Linked DNA regions of Homo sapiens: region 1 is linked to region 2. The links are contacts of gene promoters, found by promoter capture Hi-C in human tissues and cell types (Jung and others, 2019). All regions are on one chromosome and are shown on one strand. Each heading gives the region's core, a stretch centred on a gene start or on the middle of the fragment in contact. The rest is flanking DNA. Distances are from core to core; before and after follow the strand shown. Region 1 has its middle 12 kb from the start of HACE1. Region 2 holds the start of LIN28B (lin-28 RNA binding posttranscriptional regulator B).

Evidence for each region. The method cuts DNA at HindIII sites, captures the fragments that hold promoters and counts their contacts. A contact is called where the count stands out against the background at its distance.
Region 1: a contact is called between a fragment that was not itself captured here and the fragment with the promoter of LIN28B in region 2, in 2 of the 25 tissues and cell types used here (H1 embryonic stem cells and dorsolateral prefrontal cortex).

The regions. Positions count from the first base shown.
Region 1 is chr6:104,870,157-104,873,119 of GRCh38, reverse strand. No RefSeq gene overlaps it. Among named protein-coding and RNA genes, the nearest start is that of HACE1, 12 kb to the right of the region's middle. The HindIII fragment of the contact is 5,361 bases long and covers 1-2,963 here.
Region 2 is chr6:104,955,833-104,958,589 of GRCh38, reverse strand. It overlaps LIN28B (lin-28 RNA binding posttranscriptional regulator B), which reads right to left and starts at 1,483. Exons shown (of 4, transcript NM_001004317.4): 1 at 1,330-1,483; 2 at 304-491. The coding sequence starts at 1,339. RefSeq lists enhancers at 595-1,532, 1,533-2,470. The HindIII fragment of the contact is 4,416 bases long and covers 1-2,275 here.

The sequences.
Region 1 (2,963 bases), core at 363-2,862, 86 kb after region 2:
TACCAGAGGTACAAGGAGGAGCTGGTACCATTCCTTCTGAAACTATTCCAGTCAGTAGAAAAAGAGAGAATCCTCCCTAACTCATTTTATGAGGCCAGTATCTTCCTGATACCAAAGCCTGGCAGAGACACAACAACAAAAAAGAGAATTTTAGACCAATATCCCTGATGAACATCGACGCAAAAATCCTCAATAAAGTACTGGCAAACCGAATCCAGCAGCACATCAAAAAGCTTATCCACCATGATCAAGTGGGCTTCATCCCTGGGATGCAAGGCTGGTTCAACATATGCAAATCAATAAACGTAATCCAGCATATAAACAGAATCAAAGACAAAAACCTCATGATTATCTCAATAGAAGCAGAAAAGGCCTTTGACAAAATTGAACAGCTCTTCATGCTAAAAACTCTCAATAAATTAGGTATTGATGGGACGTATCTCAAAATAATAATAGCTATTTATGACAGACCCACAGCCAATATCATACTGAATGGGCAAAAACTGCAAGCATTCCATTTGAAAACTGGCACAAGACAGGGGTGCCCTCTCTCACCACTCCTGTTCAACATAGTGTTGGAAGTTCTGGCCAGGAGTTTAGATTTTTAAATGTTGGAGAAAAAGGGACAGCTGCAGAGATTCTGAGGTGGGAAATGAAATGCTTCAAGTGGTTCTATAGGAAGATAACTCTGACAGAGACCAGAGAGTTCTGAAGGTGCCCCCTGCCCTTGGCATTCGTGAGCCATCTTACTGTATTAATAAATTCTTATTTAACATAAGCTAGCTGAAATTGCGTTTCTGTCAGTTAAAGCTGAAGAAATACTGTTTAATAAATCTCAGTTTGCAGAGGAGGAAACTTAAAACTAGACAGTATAAGTGAAACACAGTTTTTTGGTGTCAAGGTCAGCACTAGACTGTCCATGTCCCCGCTCTCCTAAACCACTGTACCCTGGGCAGTTAGACCTTTTACTTTTTCACTGCACTATTTGTCTTGAAGAAAAAGTGAACAAATCAATTCTTCATAGGCAATTCAAAGTGATGATTTTATGTAAATTAATTCCATACTAATAGATGTGGAAAACCAGTACTCAGATGACAGGTGCATTTGTTAAATGAATCTGGTATAGAACCATCCCATGCTTCAGATCAGGCTTGACAAGGCTCCTCATAATTCTGCTACCTAATGATTTGGAGTTAGAAACATAGCATGTTGGCTGGGTGCGGTGGCTCATGCCTGTAATCCCAGCACTTTGGGAGGCCGAGGCGGGCGAATCACGAGGTCAGGAGATCGAGACCATCCTCGCTAACACAGTGAAACCACGTCTCTACTAAAAATACAAAAAAATGACAGGGCGTGGTGGTGGGCACTTGCAGTTCCAGCTACTCGGGAGGCTTAGGCAGGAGAATGGCGTGAACCTGGGAGGCGGAGCTTGCAGTGAGCCGAGATCGCGCCACTGCACTCCAGCCTGGGCAACAGAGCAATACTCTGTCTTAAAAAAAAAAAAAAAAAAAAAAAAAAAAAAGAAACATAACATGTTCACATAAATAGTGAAATACTGAAATACACAGTAACACGTGTTCATGAATAAGTCTACTGCACCAAAGTGGAGGAAAGACAGAACCAAACATACATAATACTAATTTCAATGCCTATAACCTAGCTTTATGAGAAATGGATGACTTCAAGTTAAAATAATTGTTTTTCTCCATAAAAATCTGTTAAAAAGGGCCTTAACAACTTTTGAACTAATCTTTCTCCCTCAAAAGAACTACTCTACTCCTGTTACTGACTTTGGAGTCATCCCAAATCACTCTAACCCATTTATCCCATTGGTCATCTAGATTCCAGATTCTGCATCCTGCCCATCTACAGTATGCTCACATACATCTTTCTTTTTCACCCTCACCTTAATACAGTGTCTTGTATCCACTCACTTATATAATTTCAATAGCCTCTTAACTCATCCAGCTGTTGCCACTCTTTCCCACTGCCACCTAATTATGTTGCTCCTCACTGCTTATAGAACTGGCTTCAAGCTGCTAAGCATGTCATTCAAGGCTAACTGAAATCTGACTCATATGTTAGCCTTAATTCCCCAATTACCCATGAGCCTCAGCTAAATCAGCTATTAATGCTCAACAAGTATCAGCTGTTATTATTTGTTGTTAATCAGATTGTCCTGCTTGTTTCTATTCCCCATGTGTAAATATGACGTCTTTCAGGCATGAAATCTCCCTGATTCTACTCCCTTACTACACTGAAGTGATGATTCTCTTTCTCACCTCCTCAGGGTTTTTGGTACAACTTGAAGGACTCTCCACAGTTTGCTGTGTATTACTGTCAGATTTGTACATGTCTTAACTCTCTTTTTGGAAGTTGAACTTCTTGAGCATAAGAAAAAAATGTCTATTCTGGGGGTGCATGTGCAGGTTTTTATTCTTCAGTGTACTTCTACCTTGCATTTTGAACATACATGTATGTATTGAATTTGAAACTAAGTTACTGATGATGGAATGAAGTCACTGACACCCTTTATCTAATTAAAACGGAATGTTTAAAGAAGGCAGCATTTCACTGAAATGAAAAATAAACTCAATACAAATTAAAATAATTTTAAATACACAAGCTAAATGATACTATTTTTCTTTCTTTCTTTCTTTTTTTTTTTTTTTCAGACTGAGTCTCCCTCTGTTCCCCAGGCTGGAGTGCAATGGCACAATCTCAGATCACTGCAATCTCTGCCTCCTGGGTTCAAGCGATTCTCCTGCCTCAGCCTCCTGAGGAGCTGGGATCACAGGTGCATGCCACCACACCTGGCTAATTTTTGTATTTTTAGCAGAGACGGGGTTTCACCATGTTGGCCAGGCTGGTCTCAAACTCCTGACCTCAAGTGATCCACCTGCTATGGCCTCCCAAAGTGCTGGGATTACAGGCATGAGCCACCTTGCCTGGCCCATACTGTT
Region 2 (2,757 bases), core at 234-2,733:
TATAGGTAATACCGGAAACAACAAGAACACTATTTCGCTGTAGAATGAAGCAGGGGGAAATGCTAATAACGTCAACCTTAATATATATAGTGAAATTTCAAATATTTTCTTTTCTCTTTAGACAGAAAACCCAGGAAAAGGCCCATACACGTACCCTAAACGTTGGACTACCTAGTGATTTCAGGGAAGATTTTGTCTTTCAATATACCGAAGGACATCTTATCGTACGTCTATTGGCATAACTACCGATCAGCTCCTCCACATGGAAAAAGATGAAGAGGGGGACAAAAAAGTTTGGCTTACTTGGTGTACAAATACATCGACTGGAATATCCAAGGGGCTTCCCTCTCGGTTTATCATGGAGATGAATCCAAATCCCATGCGCACATTGAACCACTTACAGTGGCCAGTTCCGCGCAAAACCTGGGATTCCTCCTCTGCCGGCTCCGGCAGCTTCCCGGGCTCTTCTCCACCACCTTTGCTAGCCCCGCCTGAGAAGGAACAGGACAAAAAAGTCAGTCTGTATTCCCATTCAATGTGCATTCAAAGATTAAAAAAAAAAAATTGCCTGCCTGGGGTTGGGGGGGAAGGGTAACAGAAAAAAAAAATTTTTTTTAATGGTTTGATTTCTTTTCTCCACAGAAAATACTTAAAATGAAAAGGGTTAAAAGGAAAGCGGGGGAGGGGGAAGCCACACTGTTCTATCGATCACACCAACTTCCACGTTTCTATACATACGTGTACTTATTCATTTAACTCCATTTTTCAGCCACATTTTACATTACAGCATGCGATACTTTACTTGTATATTGCTGATTTAATACTGATCCCATTGACAAAGAGAAATTTTCAGCGAAACTATTCTCTCCGGCGGGCACGAGGAGGAAAGAGAAATCGTGAAGATGGTTTAGAGCTACTAGTTAAGGCACATGGGGCAGCACTGAATCCAGCGTTATTTGCAATGTGCATTCCCCTCCCCCCCATAACTTTCAATTAAAGTTGGGGTGGAATGGGGGAGGGGGCAGGTGTATAAAAGTTTTCTTGGAATCACTAACTGAAACTGCGCTTAATCACACTCACACAATTCAAACAATAGCCCCCTGAAAGCTTTTCAAGTTGTGAATCAGTGTGGGCGGTACAAAACATTTTTGGAGATCTATAACAATAGGTTTGCAGAAAGCCCCACTGCGTGATGGGGGGTTGGGAGGTAATGCCCAGTATTGGGGTAAAAGGGGAAGGGGGGGACGGTCTAAGAAGGGTGGGAGAGGGGGAGGGGGAGGAGAAAAGAAGAAAGAAATTCACAGTAAAACAATAGAAAAGAAAATTAACCTTCGGCCATGTTGCCCCACGGGCCCTCAGCTCCAAACTCGTGAGATGAAAACTTTCCCTTTGGAACGGAGTGATCTTCTGCATCAATCTAACATCTTGATTTTGTGCGATCACAAATTTAGCTCGCATGGTCTAATGTGCTTTCCTTCTTTTGATTTTTTTCTCTCCTCTCTCCAGTTTCTGGCCCCCTGAGCACACGTGACTTTGTCAATTACATGCTTTCTTGCTACTAATTTCACCTCGTATCCTTAAGGGGCTGGCAAGAGGAAGAGATAACCAATCGCCATTTCATCTATGCTGACATCAAAATAATTTATGAATGAACACGAAAAACTCAAACATGTTATCTTAAAGACAATTTGGAACGCTTCTTTAGGATAAATCAGAATGCTGATTTCGTGCTTCTACTTAAACACAATGGAGGGACCTTGTGAATCATAGATTTAGAAAAAAAGGCAGTCATATATGTGCACACGCGTGCCTTACACACAAGCCTGACTAAAATCATGGGAGGGGGTCGTTTAAATAAAACAACCGATGTTAACGCTTTTTTTCCCCTTAAGAATTCAGCTATTCCATGGCAGTAAACCTGCTTGGAACGCTAATTTCATATTTAATTCAATTCTTAGAGGAAAATATATAATTTATAAAAGATCTAATTAAACCTAATTACATCCCCATGAAACTTTAGATAATGAAAACATACACCTAGGAAAAGGCAGAGGCACATAAATTACCTGATTATGCCCGAAATTTTTTCAAATTTAAAATAAAATCCTACTAGAAAAATCGTTTTCACCTTCATATAGTCAAATTGTGTTTAGGTAAACCATTTTGGAAAATTTTAGAGGGGGTTGGTAAGGAATTGTACTTCACAGGTTTCTCTGCCATCTCTTTCCGGGGGAGGAGATGTGATTAATGACTTCCTAAATAACAGCCCAGTTTTCCAGCCTAACATAGAGTGAACCTCAATCAGTGGCGATTGTTCCCCAAGAGCTGGAGGACATAGGGCAGGAGGGGGAGGGGATCGCCAGGCAGGGGAGGTGAAGAGGAGCCGCCAGGATAGGCGGCAGCAGAGTCAAAGAAAGAGGTGGGAGAGAAAAAAAGCCGGCGCGGGCAGGGGGTGGGGTGGAGAAAGAAGGACAAGTGGGAGAAAAAAGGTAAATTCATATCATATTGACTTGTACCCTGACATTTTAAAAGTCCACTACCAATGGCTAGAAGAGTTGAATAAACGAAAATGTAACAACGGATGAAGCTCCTACTGTCCTTCCTCAACTGACCCCCAGTTTCAAAATGCCTACCCCCTTTACCTTTCAAACTGGTTCAAACGATTGATTACAAGATGCTGGCAACAGTATTTCTGCCCTTATCGAATACTATAATAAATATTATAGATTAACTAAAAAGACTTTATTTCCTTTAAAA